Regions from separate parts of the Homo sapiens genome. Here region 2 is linked to region 1. Evidence: promoter capture Hi-C in human tissues and cell types (Jung and others, 2019). All regions are on one chromosome and are shown on one strand. Each heading gives the region's core, a stretch centred on a gene start or on the middle of the fragment in contact. The rest is flanking DNA. Distances are from core to core; before and after follow the strand shown.

What was found. Contacts are between HindIII fragments. The study calls those that stand out against the background at their distance.
Region 2: a contact is called between a fragment that was not itself captured here and the fragment with the promoter of ELFN2 in region 1, in 1 of the 25 tissues and cell types used here (IMR-90 fibroblasts).

Annotation. Positions count from the first base shown.
Region 1 is chr22:37,423,890-37,429,959 of GRCh38, reverse strand. It overlaps ELFN2 (extracellular leucine rich repeat and fibronectin type III domain containing 2), which reads left to right and starts at 2,481. Exons shown (of 3, transcript NM_052906.5): 1 at 2,481-2,662. The HindIII fragment of the contact is 24,898 bases long and covers 1-6,070 here.
Region 2 is chr22:37,384,366-37,390,435 of GRCh38, reverse strand. The region is part of intron 2 of ELFN2 (extracellular leucine rich repeat and fibronectin type III domain containing 2); the gene reads left to right. Among named protein-coding and RNA genes, the nearest start is that of ELFN2, 40 kb to the left of the region's middle. RefSeq lists an enhancer at 3,860-4,398. The HindIII fragment of the contact is 7,073 bases long and covers 1-6,070 here.

The DNA of each region.
Region 1 (6,070 bases), core at 1,232-3,731:
TGTGTGTGCATTAGGTCTGCCTGGGCTTGATTTTAATAAGGAGCTTGCTATATGTCTGGAGCTGCACTATCTCACATGGCAGCCACAAGCCACATTATGGCTATTTAAATTTAAAGTAATAACAATTAAAATTAAAAATTTAGTTCCTCAGCCACATTAGCCACAATTCCAATCACTCAATAGCCACATGCAGTTAGTGGCTACTGTCTTTGACAGTGCAGACATGTATCCTTTCCACTATGGTCTAGAGAAAGCCCAGTCGAGTGTCTAGATGGTGTGGTCCACTATGACCCTCAGGCCAGGCCAACTCTATCTTCTATATGGTGGCAGAAAGTCAGCTAAGAGCTGAAACTCTTGTCAATGTACATCTGCCCAGTAAGGGCAAAGTCTCCAAAGGGAGATTCTTAGACCGTTTTAGAGCTTCAAACAAATTCTGACCAAATCCAGCCAGACCTGGAGGTCTCCAGGGAGAAGGGAGTGGCCGGCACTGTGCTGGGGGTACTGGCTGCTTTTGCTATATTTCTTTCACAAAGGAGGAAACAGGCTCAGAGAGGGTTGTGACTTGCACTCTGGAAGATGACTGGGAATGTCTCGGAAACAGAGCAGCAAGAGGCTGTTTTGCCACTGACTCCCTGGTATTCTTTGGGGTCATCACTGCTCAGTTTCTTGGGCAGGAGCGGATTAGGTGGCATCTGCCAGTGCCCATCTCAGAAAGTGTCTGGGCCTGAGAGCCACAGGGGGGCTGTTGGCTTGGGGAGCACTCTAATTTCTCGAGGGATCCGCCAGAGGGCGCAGAGGCCGTTATGTTCCGCCTGAGGGGCTCTTCCAGCAAGGTCTTGGAGCTGGGACCCTGCTTCTTGCCCAGCCTTGTCAGGGATACACACCATGTGTTGGATACCGCCCCTGCCCTGTAGGAGGGCTCAGTTTAGAGGGCAGAGACAGCACATGGCTTGTTTGGGTTTGCAGCGAGGGACCTTGAAGGATGGGTAGGAGTGTGCCAGGCAGCCTGGGGTGCAGGTGGGGAACGCCCAATAGTCCTTCTGCATACCCCAGGACAACAAGTGGCCTGTGACCCAGTGCTTGTCTGCCCTCCCAGCCCCATCCTGGGCCGTTCCCTGTTCTTAGTTGAAAGGAGGGAGGAATTTCTGGACAGACGTTCTTTCTGCTCTACTAATACCCAACTCCGTGGAGTTCCCTGTACACACATACAAAGCTGTTTCATGCCTCTGTGCCTCTTTGCACATGCTGTTCCCAGAGTCCAGGACACCCTTCTCCTCCTTCTTTAGCTGGCCAACTCCTACTCATCCATCAAGATTCAGCTCAGGCAGTGGCTTCTTCTGGGGAGTCTCCTTATTCCAGACCTGCATGAGATGTCCCGACGGGGAGTTCCCGCAGCCTGGACTTCATCTGCTGTGCAACACCTGAGAACAGGCGCTGGTGCATGCGGTCCTATAAAAGTGATGGAGAAGTACAGGGCCTGCTGGCAGCAGGCCTCCGACATGCAGCTCGCAGGGCCTCGGGAGGAGGTGCTTGCATGCCCAAGCACCAAGTTATAGGCCCCGGGTGCCAGGCTTCTTGCATCTTCCACCTCCTCCTCCTCCTCCCAGCATCCACCCCTTTGCAGGTGGCAGCAGGTGGCAGGGGCTTTGGCGTAAGGGGCGGGGAACTGGGCCTCTGGAAGGCTAATGAAGGTTCTCTAGCTACAGATGAGCCCAGTATCCCTTGGACCTACTCCTGGAGGGGTGGGGAAAGGCAGTGAGTGCCCTGGCACAAGGTAGGGGAGCGTAAAGTCTAATACTGTCTGTAGGCTCCCTGTGTAACCTTGGGGGAATCACTCCTCTCCGAACCTCAGTTGTCTGGCCTGTAAAATGGGAACGCAGCAGCCGCACTTCCCCAGTCGCCAGCGGTTGAACGCGGGACCAACCAGCAGGGCGCAGGCGGCAGGGCATGGAGGTACAAGGCGGAGAGGGGGCCCATCAGCGGAGGCGGAGTCCAGGGGGAGGGCGAGTCCAGGCGCACTTCGGGCGGCCCCGCCGCAAGTTTGCCCCCAGCTGTTGAATGCGCTGGCGGAGGCCGGACCCGGACCCGGACCCGGATCCCGCGGGGTGAGCAGCGCAGGGGGCCGCGGCCGGGACAGGGGTCCGCCAGGCCGGGGCTCGGGTCCGTGGGGCCGCCTTCGCCTCCCCGGGCGCTGCAGCTGCAGCGGCGGCGCCAGGCGCGGCCCCAGCCCCGCGGGCGTGTGTCTGCGAGCGCGCGTGTGTCCGTGGAGCGTGCGGCCGGCTCGGGGGCGGGAGCGGGCTTGCTGCGGAAAGGCCTGCGGAGGGCACCGGGAGCGGGCGGGCTGGCGGACGGACAGACGGGGACGGACAGACGGACACAGCCTGCCGCGGTCCCTGACGCGCGCCGCTTGGCCCCTCCCGGGCGCCCTCCCCGCCGAGGCAGGGGCAGAGGCGCGGCGGCGGGGAGGAGGGGGCGGCGGCGTCTGCGCGCACACGCGCGCTCCCAGACACACACACAGACACACGCGGGCCACCCCACGGCCACGCACCCCGCACCCACACCCGCGCTCACACTCACATTCACACTCACACTCACACGCGCAGGCCCCGCGGCCGCCGCTTCCCGGAGGCGGTGCTTGGCCCGGATCCCGGCTGGGGCTGGGGTAAGTGAATTCCTCTGGATCCGAGCGCCGCGACCGACCGACCGGGGAGACGGTGGGAGTCGGGGCTGGAGCCGGAGGGCACCCCCTCCGTCAGTGGGGGTGGGGCTTGGAGAGGGACACGGAAGGGGGGATGAGACGGGGAGAGCCACCCCCAGTGTCTCCTGGGTCTGGGGATCCCCGTGAGACCCCCGGGGGACCACCCTGCGCGAGGGAGGTGGTGGTGGTGGCGGTGGGCGGAGGCGGTGGGAGGACACCGAGGACGGTCGGTGAGGTGAGCGTTTCTGGGGGTGGTGCAGAGGCTCGATGGTGGACGGTGTGCCAGCCGGTGCCACACTGCACCTCTCTGCCCTCATCTTTTCGAATCGGGGGCCCTAACCCCTCTCTTTCACGGGGTGCTGCCGGGTCAAGGCATTCATCCTCTAGCTGGTAAGAGGGGTTGACGGGGTGGATGCCTTCTAGGGGAAGGGGGGCCAGGGTGGGGCTTGACGGCGGTGGGGTTGGTAAGACCAGAATTGGGGGGTGGGGACCCTTTCAGAGGCGCTGGCCAGGGACAAGGAGGGAGGCAGCCCAGGGAGGCGGCATAAATCGCAGACACTGCAGCTCTGGCAGGGCCGGGGCCACTGCCGGGTGTGTGTGTGTGTGTGTGTTTGTGTGTGTGTGCGAGCGCGTGCCAGTGTGTGTGTGTGCGTGCGTGTGTGGGCTCCAGCAGCTGTCAGGGGACGGGGAGGGGGTGGGTGTGTTGGCTGGTGGGGCGCCGTGTGCATGTGGAGAGGATTGTGCGTGCTGTGTGTGTGTGGTGTGTGCGTGTGTGTGTGGACATGGGGTGGACCCTGCTCTCTGTCTGTATACACACAAGCGCACACACGCACACTGTCAGTGGCCTGGCAGGATTTCCTCGGAATGTTTGGAGGGAAGGGAGCTGATGTGTGTGTGTGTGTGTGCGCGCGCGCGCGTGTGCATGCACACTCGGGGAGCTTGTGTCCAAAACAGAGGCCACAGGCCATGGTGTGTCAGGCGTGCCCAAGGAGGGAGACGAGAAGGGGACAGTGGTGCTGACCGTGCACTCAGCTGGGGAGGAACGTGGTACTCGGCACTTTCTGCAGCTCAGGGCTCTGTGCTGTGCCCCTTCCCCCTGGACTCCTCCCACCCAGCAGCTGCGGCTGGAGGGCACTGCCTTGGTCCCTTGCTGAGACGCAGGTGTTGGGCTGGAGTGTGTGTGTGTGTCTGGGCTGCGGCTGTCGCTATCAGCAGGCCAGGCTGTCGGAGTCAGAAAGCTGGAGGGAGTGGGGTGCTGGCAGCACCTGGAGGAATGTGGTGGAAGCTGTGGGGCGCGGACTGCCCGGCGCGGTTACCGAGAGGCGTTTTAATATGCAAGTTGCATCATGAGATGGGACTGGGAGTGTGTGTGTGTGTGTGTGTGTGTGTGTATGTGTATGTGCATGGCTGACACCCCTGTTCTCGTGGCCCGTGGACACCTGTGGGACGTGTCACGTCTGGGCCATCAGCAAAGCATGTGGGCATGTGTGTCCCCTGAGAGGGGTGCACAGGCAGGTGCTGTCCTGATGAGCCGGGGGCCCTGCAACTGTGTGGGTGGGGAGGTGGGTACCTCTGGGCCATCAACGCCTAGGCAGGAAGAAAGAGTGTTAATTGTGGGGACATCAGGAAAAAGTATGTATGTGAGGTCAGTGAGAACCTCAGGTGTGACATAAGCTCCAGGCCGCAGGTGACGTCACTGGGACAGTTTTGTCGGAGGTTGCTCCCCCCAGCCAGAGTGTGTAAATGTGATGTCACGGGAGTGTGTGTGGCCGAGTGTGGTTATGTCTCTTGTATATGAGGGGTGGGAAGGGGAGAGGGATGGAGCCTTAGGACGCGTGGCGTGGTCCCTCCCAAGAGGCCGCCTTTCCCAGCATCCTGAGTGGGCATGGGACCCCTTTCCTTAAGTCCTGCCCCCTGAAGAGTGCACCTTCCAGGACTGGAACCCCCGAAGGAGGTTCTCACATCAGCACCATTGGCTGCTGAACTCCTTTGCCAGGTGGGCCTGGAGGCCTCCAATGTGCTGCAGCCCCCTATCTGACCTCCCCAGTCCCTGTTTTCCTCTTCATCCCAGCCAGGCCCACCACCCCTGGGTGGATGTGCTTTAATGAGTGAGTGTGTCAGTGCATGTGACAATAGAAAATGGCCATAGCCAGGGAGCGTGAGGCCATTGGTTCGAATCCCATTTTGCTGCTTTCTGTGTTTTGTGATTTAAGCATTCGCGTCGCCTCTCTGAGCCTCAGTCTCTCCTCTGTAACATGGGGTGAGGGGTTAGAGAGGTGAAGGGGGTTAAGGAGACCATGGGCCTTGTGGGGGGCGGGTGCTGATGCCTGGCATATGGTGGGGGCTCAGTCCACGTGAGCTCTGTCCTCTCACCTCCTATCCCCCTAGCCCAGAGTAGCTGCTTTCCTGTTTTGGTTTAAGTCTAACTTTGCAAAGGACTTTCTTTTCTTTCCTTGGATTTCCACGGCAGTTCTTTGAGGTGGGTGAGTTAGCCACTATTATGTGGATATTTGACAGATGAGTAAACTGAGTTCTGGAATAAGCTGTCTGTTGATTTAATGTGAATTCCATCCCCCCCCCCGCCGCCCTCAGTGGCTACAGGGAGACACATTTGATTACCCAGCCCCTTCTCGAGGGGTACCTTCCTTTCCTGGAGAGATATGGAGCTATGAGGAATTGGTGGTGGGGTGCCAGGTGATGAGCCCAAGGCCAAGAGTCTCTGGCTGGAGGAGAGGCTGCTCTTGACTCCCAGGTCAGTGCTCTCTTGCTCTTCCACCCACAAGCTCCAGAAACAGTCAGCGTGATAGGAACGGGCACACTCAGCAAGCCTTCTCCAGTGGGGCGTGTCTAGGGCGGTCACTGGGGGCTCCATGCCTGTTCCTCAATATCCCCTGAGGTCTTGTAGGATGCTTGTTTTTGGCAGCAGAATTGGGTTCCAGTGACACCCCTGCCGCATCTGCATCCTGGCTGTGTGTGACAGAGGTCAGCCTCTCCTGTCTCTGTAAGAGGGTGGTGGCAGCTTCCCTTGCGGGTGTGATGTGTGAGTGTGAAAGGGTGACAACCGTGTGCAGGGCTGGGAGGCACACATTGCTGCTACCCTCACCTGCTCCGGCCACAGTGCCTGGGGGCCAAGCTCCTCTCTCGGTGCCCCCACCTGCCCCATGTTGTGACATGTGCTGTGTGGAGTGGATGGCCGAGAAGTAGGATTGCCTCGAAACCTGACGCTTCTTAGCAAGTTAGACCTCTTCAGGAGCTGTGTTAATCGTCTAGAAGGTTTACCCAGTCCTCTGCCTCCTGCCGTCCCAGCCCAATCCCTGATTAAATTAACCTTCTCTTGGCTCAATTACCACCTGGGGCAGAGGCATTGACATT
Region 2 (6,070 bases), core at 1,835-4,334, 40 kb after region 1:
GGTGGGTTCAGCTTCTTCATCTGGGGTTCATTATCACTCCTTGCTTCCCTCTGGCTTGGCAGGGAGGCCGTGTGTACAGCATGAGATCAATGCATGGGCTGTGTGGCCTTGGGCAAGCCAGGCCCCTCTCCAAGCCTCAGTCTCCTCATCTGTAGAATGGGCATCATTCGCACCCGACTCTCCTGTGTCAGGCGCTGGGCACTCCATGCTTGTGAGCTGGGGTTTACTGTTTACACTCCTCACATCTCTCTGGTCCTCATCACAAGCAGTCCTCAGAGCCTGGAGGGACCGGAGTGTCATCTCCATTTGACAGATGAGGCCAGTGAGGCCCTGCCGCAGTGTGACTTACCAGAGCCATGCAGCCTGTTGGGGCAGAATTCGGACTCATCTAAGTCTGAATGTTCCAGCTTCCCAGGCCCCCTCCCCAGGGCCCGTGGGCTCCTTGGGGCAGGCCAGGTTCCTCACCCCACCAGCTTGGTTCCCACCCCCCTGGTCTTGGGGAGAGCTCCACTAACTCTATGCTTTTCTTACAGAGCAGAGACGACTGGCCGCCCTGAGCGCAATTCAATTCAACAGACATTTACTGAGTGCCTACTATGCGCCAGGCCTTAGGCTGGGCACTGGGGGAGGGGCGCAGACAGGAAGATGGGGTCCTGTCCTCAGGTAGCTCCAGGCAGGGGAGGGGGCATGGAGAAGACAGGCAAGGGCTAAACAGCTCAGCACCAGGAGAGAAGCTGCTTGGTGGGCTGGATGCAGCAGAGACCCGGGTTCAAGTGCATCACTGGAGAGCTGCTGTTCCTCGTCCGCACCTCAGTTTCCCCTACTTGTAAAATGGGGGAGATGATCTCTAGGACCCATCCAGGATTCCAAGGGCTATACCTCGGGGTTGTGGGGGCATAGCAGGGGGGTCACCCTGCAGAAGGGAGATCTCCAAAGGCTTCTCAGAGGAGGAGGCATAAGGTCTCGGCCCAGGGGATGGGGACAGGTGGGAATGGGTCCCAGGGTTAGTACCAGCTAATCGCTGGTGAGTAACGGCCTGGTGGATATGGGTGTGGGCGTGCCCTCAATTCCATAGGGTTGCGAGGGGACATGGTGGGGTGTGAGCTTAGAGAGGGAGAGAGGGGTTCTAGGGCCACAGGTTGGGTTGTGAGCTCTATTCTGGGGCCAGTGGGAGCCATTGTGGGCTGTTGAGGGAGAGTCAGGAACAGCTGGTCCTGCTCTGTCTCACCCTCTTCTCTCTCCCTCTCTGGGGCACACTTCAGGATCACATTCCCATAGAACCTTGCAGCCATGTGGCCTTGGCAGCACCTGCACTGTGCCAGGCACTGTGTACATTAGTCCTCATTGTGGCCCCAATTGACAGAGGAGGACGCCAAGCTCTGAGAGGAAGCTCTTGCCCAAGGTCATAATCTGACTCCCAAGCCCCGCATGCTTCTCCCACTACCTCCCCCTGAAAGAGTTCCTATTCTCTGTGACCTCTCCCATCCTGGGGACGCCCCCCACGAAGCCCCGGGGAGTGCCTGCCAAGGGCAATGCAGTTGGATTTGGAGGGTGAGGTCAGGAAAATCCCAGATGTTAGCAGGACTGGCTTTCTCCAAGACCTGAGTTTCTGCCCTATCAGCCACCCTCTGGGATAGAGAGTGAGGCGGGGCTCCTTCCCACTTTACAGATGAGAAGACTGAGGCCCTGAGAGTCATGTGGCTAGTCCAAGGTCAAACTCAAGGGAGTGACAGCCTAGGCTAGAAGCTGGTCTCTTTATTGCCCAACTGAGGCTGGAGGGAGGCTGAAGTCCCCTGAGATCTGTGCAAAAGCTGACCCCTCCCCGACTTCCCCAGGGAGCAGAAGAGCCCAGAAGAGCACTGGAGTCACAGACCTGGTTCAAATCCTGGTTTTGTCTTTTGCATGAACTGTGTGATCTGAGCAAGTCATGAATTACTTGGAGCCTCGATTTCCTTATCTATATGAGGGCGGCGAGCTGGCCTCCTTCACTCAGCCATGAACAAATATTTATTGAGCACCTACTAGGAGAAGCAGGACCCTTCCTCGGGGAACTCAGTCCAGAGGTAGCAGCAGCAGTTATGATTCCGGTTGTGATGGAGGAAGCACAGGGGGCTGTGGGAACCCACAGGAGAGACCCCGGCCAGGTTGGAAGAAGGCAGGCAGGTAGGAGGGCAGAACAGGCAGCGGCTCCCACAAGACCATGTGGGCTGGGCTCTGGATGCTGTTGGAATTTTCCCAGATCAGCCCGAGCCAACGAAGACTTTTCAGCAGGGAGTGCCATGCTCAGGTTGATGTTCTAGAAAGTTCATCTTCTGCTGGGTGGAGGGGGCATGGAGTGGGGAGGTAGGGTTGGAGGTAGAGAGACCAGCAGGAGCAGTAGGGGGAGGCGGCGGCACCAAGGCGGGACTAGGGGCAGGTGGGGAGGTGTGGGTGCCTCTCACTGTGTCTGGGAACTGGGAGAGAAGCAGGGGAGGAGGGGGAAGGGGCCGTGGGAGATGAGTCCAGCCGTGGAGGTGGACATGGACGAGTGAGTTTCAGGTGCCAGGGAAGGGCCCCGGAGGCAGCTGGGTACGGTGGTTTGGGTGTGGTCAGCCCAGAGCTGACATTAGAAGCCTTGGGAAGGGTTGAAGGGCTCTTGGGGTAGGGGAGGGGGAAGCGGGTTTGAGAGAGGCAGTGAGCAGGGACCAGGACATCAGGGGAGGCCACTGCTTGGCTTACAAGCAGAGGAGCCCGAGGGGCCGCGGCCTGGGAGGTCGCGGGAAAGCAAAGCTGCAGGTCCCCAGCCCAGGAAGAAGGTGGCAGGACTTAGGTCTGTGGGGAGATTTCAGAAGGCGACATGTCAGGCGCTGTGCCTGGCACCAGCGCGGACGAGGTGCCCAGGAGGGTCAGCTCCTGCATCTTTTCACCTGAAGGCAGAAGCTTAGTCTGTCCCTTACCCTCCTGAGGAGGACGAGGAGGCTACAGAGGGGGAAGGTGTCAGGGAAGGAGGAAAAGGGGAAAAACATTTGCATGCATGACAAGGCTGAAGTGAGGGAGAGAGAAGGGGGGAGAAAGAGGAAAATAAATTACCATACACCAGGATCTTGTTATTCAAGCTAATTTTCAAAGGACCACAGCTGTCACGCTGAGATAATTCGTTAATTATAACAGCCATTGTGCTTTGGCGCTGGGAGAGAAACCGAGGCCGGGGAACAGGCTGAAGGTGGGGGTGGGAGCAGGCTATTGGGGGGCCTGGACATCAGAGAGGGGACAGGGACAGAGGCAAAGAGGGGTGTGTTGCCCTCGGGACTGAAAGGAAGACAGGCCAGGCCCCATCCTTCCTCACTGTCATGGTTGCGGTGGGTAATGAGGTCCTCCTGCCTGCCTGGCGTGTGCCACGGTGCCACGCGCCAGACCCTCACAGCGATACCTGCAGGAGGCAGCTTCCTGGAGCTGTGACCCTGCCCAGACCCTGGCCTGTGGCCATCCCCCTCCACGGCCCTCTGAGCTGGTGCCCTTCTTGTCCCACTTTACAGAAGAGGAAACCGAGACCCAGGACAGATTAGCTTGCCAGGACCACGGGGTGAGGTGGCATAGCCTGGATTCGAGCTGAATGTGGACCCTGCGCTTTGGCAGCACGTTAGGGAGGGCCGGTCTTGGTGGACTGGCCACGCGGAGTTGGTGGCCACAGCAGCTGTCACATAGATAGCCTCACGTTTGGGCTGTGGTTTCTGCCCAGCCGGCGGCCCTCCCCGGGGAGTTTCCGGGGCTCGATGTCGACCCCTCTGCACCGACAGAGCCTCCTTGTTCTCTGCTGCTGCAGCTGCAGGCCCCCCGTAGCCTCAGAGGCGGCCGTCAGTGTGGGCTGGACCCTCCCACCTCCTCTGGAGAAAGCTGGTCTCAGGGCCAGGGGGAGGGAATTTGGGCCACCCCAGCTGGTGTCCATACTGACCCCTTGCGATCGCCTGGTTAGAGGTTCTGAAGCGACAGAAGCTGAATGGGCTGTGGCCTCAGGAGGGGTTTCTCAGCCTGGGCCTAGAGGGCTCCAGGACCCTGGGTGCTGGGCCATGCTAGGGACAGGGGGCTGGGGGCGTAGCAGGCAGGTGTCCCAGTCCTAGGTGAGCAGAGTGAGGGAGTCCATGGGGAGAGGGGTGGGACCAAGGAGCCATTCCAGAAACCCCAGGGCCCCTTGGTGAGCTGTGGTGTGGCTTCAGGAACTCAGGTCTCCTGGTGTCCACAGTGGCCATGCTTGGAAACAGCACCTAGGCTAGGCCAGCTGGCAGTGTTCTGTGGGGTGGGAATAATGTTTGGGAGAGGGTAACCCTCAAACCCCAGTAGGAGTCCCAAACTTGACCCAGGCAGGAGAGAAGTGGGCCCCACAAGGTGACAGGTGGGCCTGGGGTGGCTGTGTGGGAACTCCCTTGGTTGGGGACCTCTCCCCAGTGGGGCCGCATGGAGCCAAGGGGAAGCTGTCAGAGGGTCAGGACAGCTTAAAGTCCTGTAGAATTGGTGACCCACAGAGGCCAAGACACAGGAGACTTTTAGGACCAAATAAATGGTAGATACATCCTAGAATCCTTGAGCCCCAGACTCATAACTGGAGACCTCCCTCCCTAAATGACCGATCCATGCTGTTAGTATCCTGGTACTAAAACCCAGGAGCCATGGGTCAGGAGGATAGGGGAGGGGGGCTCGAGGTCAGGCAGGGGTCAAGTACAGGAGGCAGGGATCGGGGCACCCTTGGGTCCCAGGCTGAGAGGCTCATAGGAATACCCCTGACAGGCTGGGTTTCTACGTGTCCCCACTCTGGGGTTCCCCCCTTGTTGCTGGCCTCATAAACTCCAGTGTGCAGGGGTCAGCTGGCCACCTAAACCAGAGAGGCAGGGAGGAGGTTGGATGCTGCCCCGGCCTGTGCCACTGCTGTGCCTCCGGGGACGCAGACCCAGGGAAGCCAGATCTTCCCTGTATCTCAGTGGATTCCAGAAATGAGGATTTTTGAAATAAAATCTGCCAAGTTTTCAATATTGGCAACTGATTAAAAAAATGTGAAAACCACCATCCAGATGAAACAGGATCCCACAGCAGCTCTTGAACGGAGCCTGGGGCCGTGGAGGCTGGAAGCCACTGTGTAGCAGTTGTGAGGCCTCAGTTTCCTCATCTGCAAAGTGGGAATAGTGATAGTGCTTTTAAGATGTTTAAAGTTGGCTCAGGATTAAATGAGTTAATATGGGAAGTGCGGAGGCCCAGCCAGTGCAAGCACTGAAGACTTTTCATCTTGTCGGAGGCCGCCCATCCCTCCCCGGGCTACCTCTCAGGGGGCTTCGCTGTCCGACACTGGAGCCTCCATTTCCCCCTTGCGGTCCCCACATGCACTGCCCCTGTCTTGGGACAGCCCTGAGGGTACTGGAGGGCAGGGAAGCGTTCGCCCCTTGGGACCCTGGGGGAGGAGCAGGTGGAGGAGGCAGAGCCAGGAGGGCGGGCCTAGCCGGCGCCTGGTACATAGTAGGTGCTCCATAAATGTTTATTGAATGAATGAATGGAGGCCATGCAGGCAGAGGCAGCCGTGCTGCGCAGGCACTGGTGAAAGAGCGGGTCCAGTGGACACTGGTGAGTAGTGCCCAGGGGCTGCAGCTGAGGGGGCCAGCAGGGGCCGGGGGGAGGCGAAGGTCAGGTCGGGAGAGGGCAGGGGTCAGGAGTGGGAATTGGGGTCAGGTGGGGAGAGGGCAGGGGTTGGGAGTGGGAAGCGGGGTCAGGTGGGGAGAGGGCAGGGGTTGGGAGTGGGAAGCGGGGTCAGGTGGGGAGAGGCCAGGGGTCGGGTGGGGAGAAGGTAGGGGTCAGGTGGGGGAGGCAGGGTCAGGTGGGGGAGGCAAGGGCAAGTGGGGAGTGGCTAGAGGTCGTGGGGGGTGGGGAGGTGGGGTCAAATGGGATGAGGCCAGGGGTCAGGTTGGGAAGGTGGGATCAGGTGTGGGAGGCACAGTCCATGGGGGAGGTGGGATCCAGGGGAGGAGAGGTAAAGGCCAGGTTGGGGAGAGAAGGGGTGAGGGAGGCAGTCTCCTGAGTAGCTTGGAGGATTCTGGGAAAGCCAGGAGGT